2 separate regions of the Homo sapiens genome follow, and region 2 is linked to region 1. Evidence: promoter capture Hi-C in human tissues and cell types (Jung and others, 2019). All regions are on one chromosome and are shown on one strand. The core of a region is centred on a gene start or on the middle of the fragment in contact, and the rest is flanking DNA. Distances in the headings are between cores, read along the strand shown. Region 1 holds the start of TACO1 (translational activator of cytochrome c oxidase I). Region 2 overlaps MAP3K3 (mitogen-activated protein kinase kinase kinase 3).

Region 1 (5,666 bases), core at 1,921-4,420:
TGATCCCCTGGGTCCACTTGGTAGTCCAGCTGATCTTAATCCGCCTTTCACACAGGTCTGTGTTTCTTTGAGCCTAACTCTAATTTTTCACCTAACTTCCACCCTTCCCCATAATTCTATGACCAGTTTTTTCTTCGGTAAGACACTTCACCATTCCTCTGGTGTGCAGTCTCCCTTGTTGCAGTGAGTTGATAAGCCTAACTCTGTGAGACTATAGGTTTCCCTTGCTGGTCTCAGGCTGACTGGACTAGGGCAGTCTCAAACCTTGTTTTAGCCTCTACACTTATTTGTGATTACAAATTCCATTAATTTGATTTTTGCTTCTCAAAGTAAATATTACATATATATTTTTTTCTTTTTTTTTGAGATGGAGTCTCGCTCTGTCACCAAGGCTCAAGTGCAGTGGCGCGATCTCGGCTCACTGCAACCTCCGCCTCCTGGGTTCAAGCGATTCTCCTGCCTCAGCCTCCTGAGTAGCTGGGACTACAGGCGCGTGCCACCACACCTAGCTAATTTTTTGTATTATTAGTAGAGACGGGGTTTCACCGTGTTAGCCAAGATGGTCTCGATCTCCTGACCTCATTATCTGCCCCAAATCGGCCTTCCAAAGTGCTGGGATTACAGGTGTGAGCCACCATGCCTGGCCTGAATAAACTATTTTTAAATTGCAAAAAGTAATACTATATATGAATGGCTGATAAGCACATGAAAAGATGCTTACCATTAGTAGTCATTCAGGAAATACAATCAAAACCACAATGAGATAATACTTCTCACCCACAAGGATGGTGATAACTATAGTCAAAAAGAATAACAAATTTAGCCAGTGGCTCACACCTGTAATCTCATCTACTTGGGAGACTGAGATGGGAAGATCACTTGAGCCCAGGAGTTCTATGCTGCAGTCAGCTATGATTGCTCCACTGGACTCTAGCCTGGGTAACAAAGCAAAAAAAAAAAAAAAAAATTCATGATATGGAGAAATTAAACCCTCATATATTGCTGGTGGGAATGTAAAATGATACAACCACTTTAGAAGACAGTCTGGCAATCCCACAAAAGGTTAAACATAGTTATGATATGACCCAGCAATTCCACTCCTAGGTATATAACTAAAAGAAGTGAAAACATAGGTCCACACAGCAATGTGTACATGAATGTTCACAGCCTCATTATTCATCATAGAAGGTGGAAACAACCACATGTCCATTGCCTGATGAACAGATAAATAAAACGTGGTATATTCATACAATGGAATATTATTTGGCAATAGAAATGAAATACTGATACATGCTACAACATGCAAGAATCCTGAAAACATCATGCTAAGTGAAAGAAGCCAGTTACCAAAGGCCACATAGTGTGTGGGCCCATTCATATTAAATGTCCAGAAGAGGCAAACCCACAGAGACAGAAGTAAATTGGTGATTGCCTAGGGCTGTGGGAATTGGGGGGAAATAGGGAATGATTGCTAATGGGTACAGGACTTCTTTTGGGGATGATGAAAATGTAAAATCAATTGTGCACAGCTCTGAATATTCTATAACACATTGTACACTTTGAATTGGTGATCTGTGTGATCTGTGAAATATGTCAAAACTTAATTTTTTAAAAAATGAGAACTGTGTTGGGCATAGGAAGTACAGTCCTACTCTCAGAGAATTTAGTATTACGGTAGAAACAGATATAAACATTTTGATATTTTTTTAAAAGGTAAGTGCTAAGGTGCAAGCATGTATGAAGGGCTATGGGCACCCACCGCACCTGGCTAATTTTTGTATTTTTAGTAGAGACGGGGTTTCACCATGTTGACCAGGCTGGTCTTGAACTCCTGACCTCAAGTGATCTGCCAGCCTCGGCCTCCCAAAGTGCTAGGATTACAGGCGTGAGCCACCGCACCCAGCCCCATGGAGGTTCTTATATAATAAAAAATAAAAAATCTATGCTTTTGTGCTTTGCATCCATTATCCCATTTAGTCCTCACAAGGCCATTCTATGGTAAGGAAACTGAAACAGGAAAGTAAAGGAACTTGCCCAAGGATACACTAGAAAATGGAACAACCAGGGTTTGAAGCCACCCAGTCTAACTGCAGAGGGCACAAACTTGGACTTCACACTGTCCTGCTTCTCTCTCTCTCTCTCTCTCTTTTTTTTTTTTTTTTTTGAGTTGGATTCTCGCTCTGTCGCACAGGCTGGAGTGCAGTGGCGCGATCTCGGCTCACTGCAACCTCCTCTTCCCGGGTTCAAGCGATTCTCCTGCCTCATCCTTCTGAGTAGCTGGCATTACAGGCGCGCGCCACCACGGCCGGCTAATTTTTTTGTATTTTTAGTAGAGACGGGGTTTCACCATGTTGGTCAGACTGGTCTGGCACTCCTGACCTAGCGATCCGTCTGCCTCAGCCTCCCAAAGTGCTGGGATTACAGGCGTGAGCCACCGCGCCCGGCTGTCCTGCTTCTCTACCTGATATGTCATGCCCTTTGGACTTAATCTCACCAGCATGGGAGTCACTACAAAGCTTTTCAGCAGCTGCCGCTTTGTTTCTCTCCATCTTCTAACGGATTCGGTTTTCTCTTTCGAGACAGCAGAGAGAAAATGAAGAGGGGAGTTTAGCTCCAAAGGGCTTGTCTGATCATTCTCCCTCTCCCAAAGGCCTGTGACTCATCTGAGTCTGTCCCAAACCATCTCTTGCATCTAGGGGCTTAAGTGCACTGTGGCTATTTACATAAAACTTTATTACTTTAAAGCTCTAAGGGCTCATTTTGTGTTTCTAACTTTCCTATGTTGATAAAGCAAATATTAGATCCTTATTTATAAATAGGGAAGACGTTCAGAGAGATTAAACATTTGGGCAATTCACTTCTCTGGCAGCAGTTTCTTTCCCAGTACAATGAGGCAACAACAAAATATCATTCTGGACTTGCTCAGATTTAGGCAGCAATTTGGAAGCAAAGTCAGTTTCATAACTCAGATGTGTCTCCACTAAAACATTATGAGAAACAAAGTCCGGCGCTCTCTAGGCAACCGTGAGGGCTTGAGCACTAACTAGATCTGCTCAAGGGCAAGAGAGGAGCGAGTACCGTGCAGCCACGGAACGGACTTTGCGGGCAGTGGGGACGTGTTTTTGGAGCGAACCCGGTAAAGGAAGTGTGCTACGCCATCAAGGGCCCCCAGTCCCGGGTGCCGCGGGGACAGTGTAGGGTCATTAGCTGTTGAGCCGCCCCGGGCGGGCCCAAGCCTTTGGATCTCAGGTGACCGGCACAGGCGGCCGCGGGGTCCGGAACTGCTTGTTCCGGCAGTGGAAGAGACGCGCCGGCGTTGGCCGCTGCTGCTAGCAGCTTGAACCCCAGGGTCGGGACCGATGTCGGCTTGGGCTGCTGCCAGCCTAAGCAGGGCCGCTGCCCGATGCTTGCTGGCACGAGGCCCCGGGGTCAGGGCGGCTCCTCCGCGCGACCCCCGGCCCTCCCACCCCGAGCCCCGGGGCTGCGGTGCCGCTCCGGGCAGGACGCTGCACTTTACCGCGGCTGTCCCCGCCGGGCACAACAAGTGGTCCAAAGTCAGGCACATCAAGGGTCCGAAGGACGTCGAAAGGAGTCGCATCTTCTCCAAACTCTGTTTGAACATCCGCCTGGCAGTGAAAGGTGAGACCCTGACGGTCACCCAGCACTGGCTGCCGCTGCCCTCTCAGTGCCCGCAGCCTCGCTTGCCTCTCGGAATTGGGCCCACCTAGATCTCCGGCCCTTCACTTTGTTTTCCTTCCCCAGTACCCACCATTGCCCACCTCATAAATCCTCAAAACACCTACCCTACGTTGGAGGTTCTCACTCACTTTTCCAGACGCTGAGCATCTGGCCAGTTTGTCAGAGAGGGAGCTGCTCTTAAGAAGATAAGCCGGTAAGGTAGAAGTGACTTCATCCTAATCTAGCTGGGTACTTAATAGAAACAAGCCCTAAGAGTCAGGGCAGATGTGTGTCTCTCCTGAAGAGACAAATCAACCCCTCTGAAGTCGCCTCAAGTACCTTATTGGTTGTGGCAGGGGCACTGAGTAAAGCTATTACTTAAGTGCTTAGGCCTTAGCTTAGGCCTTAGTTTGCTTCATTAATGTTTCCCCAAGACACATTTCCTTGGAAGGTAGATTTGCAGCCATGTCTTTTCTCCCTTAGGTCGCCACACTGAAAAGGCTTTTTTTCTGTTTAGGGCCAGACATCTGTAGGAGCAAAGGAAAAGTCCTGTAGAAAGCATGGACTTTGGACTGGGCGCAGTGGCACAGCCTGTAATCCCAGGCCAGAGGCAGGCAGATCACTTGAGGTCAGGAGTTCAGGACTAGCCTGGCCAACATGGGGAAACCCTGTGTCTACTAAAAATAACAAAAAAAAAAAAAAAAAAAAACAGCTGGGCATGGTGGTGCATGCCTGTAATGCTGGCTACTCGGGAGGCTGAAGCAGGAGAATTGCTTGAACCCAGGAGTTGAAGGCTGCAGTAAGCGAGATTGCTCTACTGTACTCCATCCAGCCTGGGTGACAGAGCAAGACTCCATCTCAAAAAAAAAAAAAAAAAAAGAGAGAGAAACTGTGGACTTTGGAGTCAGGAAGACTGGTTTCTGTCACTGACTAACCTTGAACAAGTAGCTTAACTTGAGTTTCTCTGAAACAAGGATAATACCCACCTTGAGGTAGTTTATGGTTTATGGCACATCATAGGCATTCAGTTAATGTTAATTTACCCCCTCAGCTCATGCCTGGTATTTGTTTGCTTCCTTTTCTTCAAAATTCTTGATATTAAGTTCAAGCAACTTTTATTTATTTATTTATTTATTTATTTTGAGACAGAGTCTCACTCTGTCACCCAGGGTAGAGTGCAGTGGCGTGATCTTGGCCCATTGCAACCTCCACCTCCCAGGCTCAAGTGATTCTCCTGCTTTAGCCTCCGGAGTAGCTGGGACTACAAGTGTGCACCACCATGCCTGGCTAAATTTTTTTGTATTTTTAATAGAGACAGGGTTTCACCATGTTGGCCAGGCTGGTCTCGAACTCCTGACCTCAAATGATCTACCCACCTCCACCTCCCAAAGTGCTGGGATTGCAGGTATCAGCCACTGCATCCCAATGAAGTTCAACCAACTTGTGTTTATTTTGTGCCAGGCATGCCATTGGTACTAGAAAGATGATGAGATACAGCCCCTACCCTCAGATCACAATGTCATGTGAACATTTCAATAATTATGCACAAAGTGCTGGGCACGGTGGCTCACACCTGTAATCTCAACACTTTGGGAGGCTGAGGCCGGCGGATCACGAGGTCAGATCGAGACCATCCTGGCTAACACGGTGAAACCCCGTCTCTACTAAAAATACAAAAAAATTAGCCAGGCGTGGTGGTGGCGGGCGCCTATAGTCCCAGCTACTCAGGAGGCTGAGGCAGGAGAATGGCGTGAACCCAGAAGGCGGCGCTTGCAGTGAGCCGAGATTACACCACTGCACTCCAGCCTGGGCAACAGAGGAAAACTCTGTCTCAAAAAATAATAATAAAAATAAAATAAAATAAAAATAATTATTATGCACAAAGTAGTAGAGTAAGAGCAGTAATGAGTCCAGGAAGTGTTGTTACCATCTATAACCCTTCTTCATCTGACACAAAGTAGAGATCGCTGAAACCTAGCAGAATGAAA
Region 2 (5,666 bases), core at 1,473-3,972, 80 kb after region 1:
CCTGTTTTCTCGCTTCGGCCCCACCATAAAGTCACTTTATGGCTTTGGGGCTTGGGTTTCCCTCTGCGCAATGTGGATGATGATAATGCACCACCACTGCAGGGGTGTAGTAAGGGTTAAATGAGAGGTGACAATATTTTTTTAAGAAAAAAAAATTGCCTTGACTGATTTTATTGCTCTGTTAGTTCATGGTACAATATCCCTAAATTTACACTCAGAGTAACTTTAGTTTCTGTTAGGACTTAGAAAATAGGACAAATTCTCTTCCATGGGCTGTTTGAGACCATTGCAAAGGCATGGCTCAGATACCACTTTATCTCAGAATTGGTGGCCTCTACCCTGTGAGTGAGATGTTGAGACAGGAAATCCAGCAAAATTCTATGCCTGTTTTCAGAGCAATTTTGTTTCTGGCCTTTGCTCTGGAGTCAGGTGGGGAGGCCAGATTACTGAGGACCCCATGTTAGCTTTCCTGCCAGAGAGACATCCTTGGAGGGAGGCTGGGGTGATGTGTCCAAGAAGAGATTGGAAGTATTCTCCAATACCAGTTCAGTGGTGAATTCTCAAAATGTATTCAGCACAACCACATGAACCATATGTTCTGAACAACTGACTTAATATAGAAGAATTAAAGAGTCAGTTTCAACTGGGTGCAGTGGCTGACGCCTGTAATCCCAGCACTTTGGGAGGCTGAGACAGGCAGATCACCTGAAGACAAGAGTTCAAGACCAGCCTGGCCAACATGGTGAAACCCTGTCTCTACTAAAAATATAAGAATTAGCTGGGTATGGTGACGGCCACCTGTAATCCCAGCTATTCAGGAGGCTGAGGCAGAAAATTGCTTGAACCCAGGAGGCGGAGGTTGCCTTGAGCCAAGATTGTACCACTGCACTCCAGCCTGGGCAACAGAGCAAGACTCCGTCTCAAAAAAAAGAGTCAGTGTCAGTTTCTTAAAGGTCATTGAAAAACAATAGTTTAAGCTTCTTAGAAAATGTCTTTCAAAAAGCAACCCTCTGGCCAGGCATGGGGGCCCATGCCTTTAATCCCAGCACTTTGGGAGGCCAAGGCTTGAGACCAGCCTAGGCAACATAGCGAGACCCTGTTCCTAAAAGTGCACACACACACACAGAGCAAGCCTCCCCGCCATTCTTTTTTTCCATTAAGTATTTTTCTTCCTTCTGAGGGTCTTTGAAATAGTGGGAGTCTCTCTGGCTCAGGGAGTTTGTTGAGCTCCATCAGTCTGTCAGGCCCACCCTCTTTTCCGGGATGTTCTAAGACCCTGGACTGGGCTCTTGAGCACCCTCTGCTGTAGATGCTTAGTCCCTGGTGCACTACCTCTACTTCCAGGTACAGGCTGAGTGCTCCTGGCTCCACATGAGCTTTGTTGTTTTGTCTATGAGACAGGGTCGCACTCTATCACCTATGCTGGAGTGCAGTGGTCCAAACACGGCTCACTGCGGCCTCAACCTCCCAGGCTCAAGCAGTCCTCCTGTCTCAGTCTTCCAAGTAGCTGGGTCCACAAGTGTGCGCCTGGCTAATTTTTAAAATATTTTTTGTAGAGATGGGGTCTCACCATGTTGCCCATGCTGGTCTCAAACTCCTGGCCTCAAGCATTTCTCCTGCCTCTCGAAGTGTCGGGATAATAGGTGTGAGCCACTGCACCTGGCCACACATGAGTTTTTGAGCAATAGGAAATATATATACATATATGTATAAACATGTATACACACACACATACATAAAACTAAAACTGTGTATCTCAGATTTTCCATCTAAAACTGGTCTGGACTAGGGATCTATCATCAAGAAAGGAGAGAAGCCAGGCATGGTGGCACCTGCCTGTAGCTGAAGGGGGAGGATTGCCTGAGCCCAGGAGCTCAAGACTAGCCTGGGCAACAGAGTGAGACCCTGTCTCTGAAACAAAACAAAACAACAAAACAGAATAGAATGAGTCAGGTACTTCCCTAGGTCTCCAGCTACCAAACTTGGTCTCTCTTGCTTCCTTAGCCATTTCCACAGAGCATCTTGCCTGCAGTTCCATTTCAGAAAACCTAGTGCTACAGCCCCTGAACTAGACTGGAGAAACCAGCCAGCAAGGAAAGTAACCTGCATTGTTGAGGGATGGTACTACTCTATTCCTGGTGTCTGGGAATTGCTGGGTCGTGGGAGAGAGGTAAGGGGTGGTAGATAAGGGAATGGAGGGCTCTTGTGTCTCTGGTTTTCTAAACAACAGGATAAATTTGTTCCCTTCAGAACAGGAAAAGGGTTCAGGATAAGAGTCTTACGTTTAAGTTTTGAAGCTACAAGAAATATTTGTGTGGGTATAGTTAAAGCTTTTTTTAAACCTTCTGAAAATTGGCTCTTCTGGTTTGGTGAGCTTAGGAAGGAAAAAAGATGCAAACTTTTGGCCTCATTTTTGTCTTCTCTGATCATGGAAAGCAACACAGCCAGTCAGAAAAAGCTCTTGGGCTAGGAGGAAGGAGGACCTGATTTCTCGGACTCAAAATCCCTTATGGCAGAAAAACATTGCTCAGTGACTTACAAAGTGTGTCATTTGTAAGACTGCACACCTCTGTCATTCACTAACATTAGGATGATAAACCATTTCATCTTACAAGCTGATGTGGTGAAAGTACCTGTTAATTGGTTTTATAGTCTCTTATCTGTAAAACATAAATAATTGTTTTTGGGTGTTTTGGGTTTTTTTTTTTTTTAAGATTTAAGTTCCTTGAGTCTCCGTCTCCTCCTCTGTTAAGTAAAGCAAATGCTTACCTCTCAGGATTGTTGAAAGGATTAAGTGAAGTAACAAATGTAAAAATACCTTGTGGAATGATTGCCACTTAGCAGCCACTCAAAAAATATTTGCCAAACCTCTGTTGTAGAGATGTTGAAAATCAAATGAGGTTAATTACTGTGAATGTGTAACAAAAAGTAAAGCACCACATAAATGCAAGATAATATCATTACTCAGACCAACCTGAGCAACATAGTGAGACCCTGTCTCAATTTAAAAAAAAAAAAAAAAAAGGTAATATCATTACTCATAAGCCAGGAAGTGTGGGAGTGGGTAGGAATGGAGAAGCCTGCCTTTTGATCCTGGCCAGACCATCACGAAGGCCTTTTTACCTGATACAAGTAGAGAACAAATAAGGGGAGACACTGGCTGGGGGAACAGGGCAACAGAGAGAGATGCACAGGTATATTCAGTTACCTTTCCCTGGTCCCCACCCTCAAAATACTGCTTGGACCCAAAACTAAAGAGGACTAAGCTGATGTATTGAGCTGATGGGAGGAAATGGCATTAGTGCTCTAGAGGAAGAGAGAAGGTGACATTATGAAGGAGTAATTATATATAAGAATTTTTTTAAAAGCTAGTCTGATTGCCAGCTAAAATGGTCTCCTAGGGGTTATTCTGGTTTCTGTTTTGTGTCAAGGTTTTTTTGGTCGGATATGCCGTAGTGCCTGCTCCATCTCTGGAGTTTGTTTCCTATTAGGAAGGGACTTTGTTTGCCTGAGGGAGCTGGCACATGCTGGACGTTGGTGCCATGACCCATCTGAGTCACATTCCTGACCTCTAGGGCCTAATAGTTGGCCCCATGCCTGCTCCTCTTGGGCCACACACCCTGGGCTCTGTTGTTGAAAGCCTCCTTTATGTGCTCTAGGCTCCCAGAACCCTGGCCGAAGCTCACCTCCCCCTGGCTATGTTCCTGAGCGGCAGCAGCACATTGCCCGGCAGGGGTCCTACACCAGCATCAACAGTGAGGGGGAGTTCATCCCAGAGACCAGCGAGCAGTGCGTGAGTATAGGGGGGCTGGGATATGCCTGTGGCCTGTATCAGCAGACCAAGCTCATAACAAGGGGTTCTTAGTAGTCACAGTGCAGAACTGAGGGACATGAACCCCATTTGAAAGCTCTTTTATAAACCAGGCCTGCCCAAATATGGATTGTCCCTTTTTAAGGGCCAAATAACAATTTCTGCCAAAGATGGGATCTAAAGGATCTAAACTACATAGTTTCCTTGTTGTTGGGTGAGGATTTAACAGATTTTTCTTCATCGTGGTCCTCTCATTGTTCCTACAGGCAGGCACCACCACGCCCAGCTCATTTCAGTAGTGTTTTAACATACGACTGGTTCTAAAGTGACAGGTTATGTTTTTCATTGGATATATTTTAGTTTTGCTGTTTCTTGATGAAAGGTAAGGAGTAAACCATATCAAAATTACACTGTAGGATTGGTTAGGCTGATCATTTATGATGGTAGACAGTTGTATTAGTTATCTATTGCTCCATAACAAATTACCACAAACCTAGAGGCTTAAAACAATATACATTTATCATTTTCCAGTTTCCCTGGGTGAGGAGTCCAGGCATGACTCAAATGGGTCCTCTGCTGAGGGTCACACAAGACTGCGATCAAGGTGTCAGCCAGGCTGCCTGCCTTTCTTGAGTTTGAGGCTCTTTTCTAAGCTCAGATGGTTGTTGCCAGAATTCAGTTTTTTTGTGGCTGTAGGACTGTGGTTCCTCTTTTCTTCTGAATGTCACCCAAGGGCTTCTCTGAGTTCCCTTCCTAGAGGCCACCTGCAGTTCCTTGCCATGGGGCCCTCTCACAACATGGCAGCTTCTTCAAAGCCAGCAGGAGAATCTTTTGCTCCAATCTGCAAAGATGGAGTCATAAAACATCACATAATCATAGGAATGAATATTCTATCCTCTTTGCCATAGTCTATTGGCTAGACTCACGTCACAGGTTCTACTTGCACTAAAGGGAAAGGCAGTTCATTGGGACTAATTGGAAGAGGGAGCAATCACCTTAGGGTGTGTCTACCACAGTGGCTCAGCCATTTTAGTGGCTAGCTTTTAAATTGGTGGCTTACTTGATGCAAATGGCAATTTGGCTTAGTGAACTCACCAAGCATGAGATCTCTAGCTTCATTCTGGTCTTTTCAATAAACTTGCTTTGATGTAAAAGAAAAGGCTGCTCTTACACTTTCTGGGCTTGGCCTGAGAAGGGGAAATTTCTTAAGGGGAAAATGTCCAACAGAAGGGCCTGTGCTGTCACATGGGAGATCTTATAAAAAGCTGATTCTTGTAACTTTTCTTTCATTATTCAAACTATGTAGGCTATGAGAAGCCCTTTGTACTCTTCTTCCTTCTATACTCCTGCCTTCCAGATAAATTCATGTTTGGAGTAGTGACCTGGAGTGCCATTAGCTGCAGATTTCCTTTTTGGGCATTTTACTGACCATCCTTTCTGGTTTCTCTAACCAGGGCACTTCTGGACATCAGCTGTTCTAGGGGTGACTTGGGTGTAAAATCCCAGAGATTGCAGATGAGCTTGATTGCCCTCAGTCTATGTCCCTCGCCATGGTCCTATACTCTGCCCCCTTCACTTTTTTACTTTGCCTGCATGGCCCTGGAAGGCCTGGGAGGATTTGACTCCCAGTGAGGACAGACTTTTAGAAAGAGGCCAAGGAAGGCAGTGGTTGGGGATTGCCAAGGTCCTCCCCCAGCGCCTGCCTCTTTAGCTGAAGAGAATTGCTCCTGGTAACAGGCCATTTGAGATCAATCTGCTTAACAGGAACGAACACTGCATAGTATGTAATAAAAGAATATTCCAGTGTGACTTTACTGAAAAGTGAAAATATGATAAGTTTTGTTTTTTCTTTAAT

What was found. The method cuts DNA at HindIII sites, captures the fragments that hold promoters and counts their contacts. A contact is called where the count stands out against the background at its distance.
Region 2: a fragment that was not itself captured here is called in contact with the fragment with the promoter of TACO1 in region 1 in 4 of the 25 tissues and cell types used here (dorsolateral prefrontal cortex, hippocampus, liver and 1 more).

The regions. Positions count from the first base shown.
Region 1 is chr17:63,597,725-63,603,390 of GRCh38, forward strand. It overlaps TACO1 (translational activator of cytochrome c oxidase I), which reads left to right and starts at 3,171. Exons shown (of 5, transcript NM_016360.4): 1 at 3,171-3,639. The coding sequence starts at 3,360. The HindIII fragment of the contact is 17,557 bases long and covers 688-5,666 here.
Region 2 is chr17:63,678,107-63,683,772 of GRCh38, forward strand. MAP3K3 (mitogen-activated protein kinase kinase kinase 3) reads left to right here. Exons shown (of 16, transcript NM_002401.5): 7 at 3,660-3,793. It overlaps LOC101927898 (a long non-coding RNA gene), which reads right to left. Exons shown (of 3, transcript XR_243740.4): 3 at 4,230-4,652. Among named protein-coding and RNA genes, the nearest start is that of LIMD2, 19 kb to the right of the region's middle. The HindIII fragment of the contact is 5,321 bases long and covers 63-5,383 here.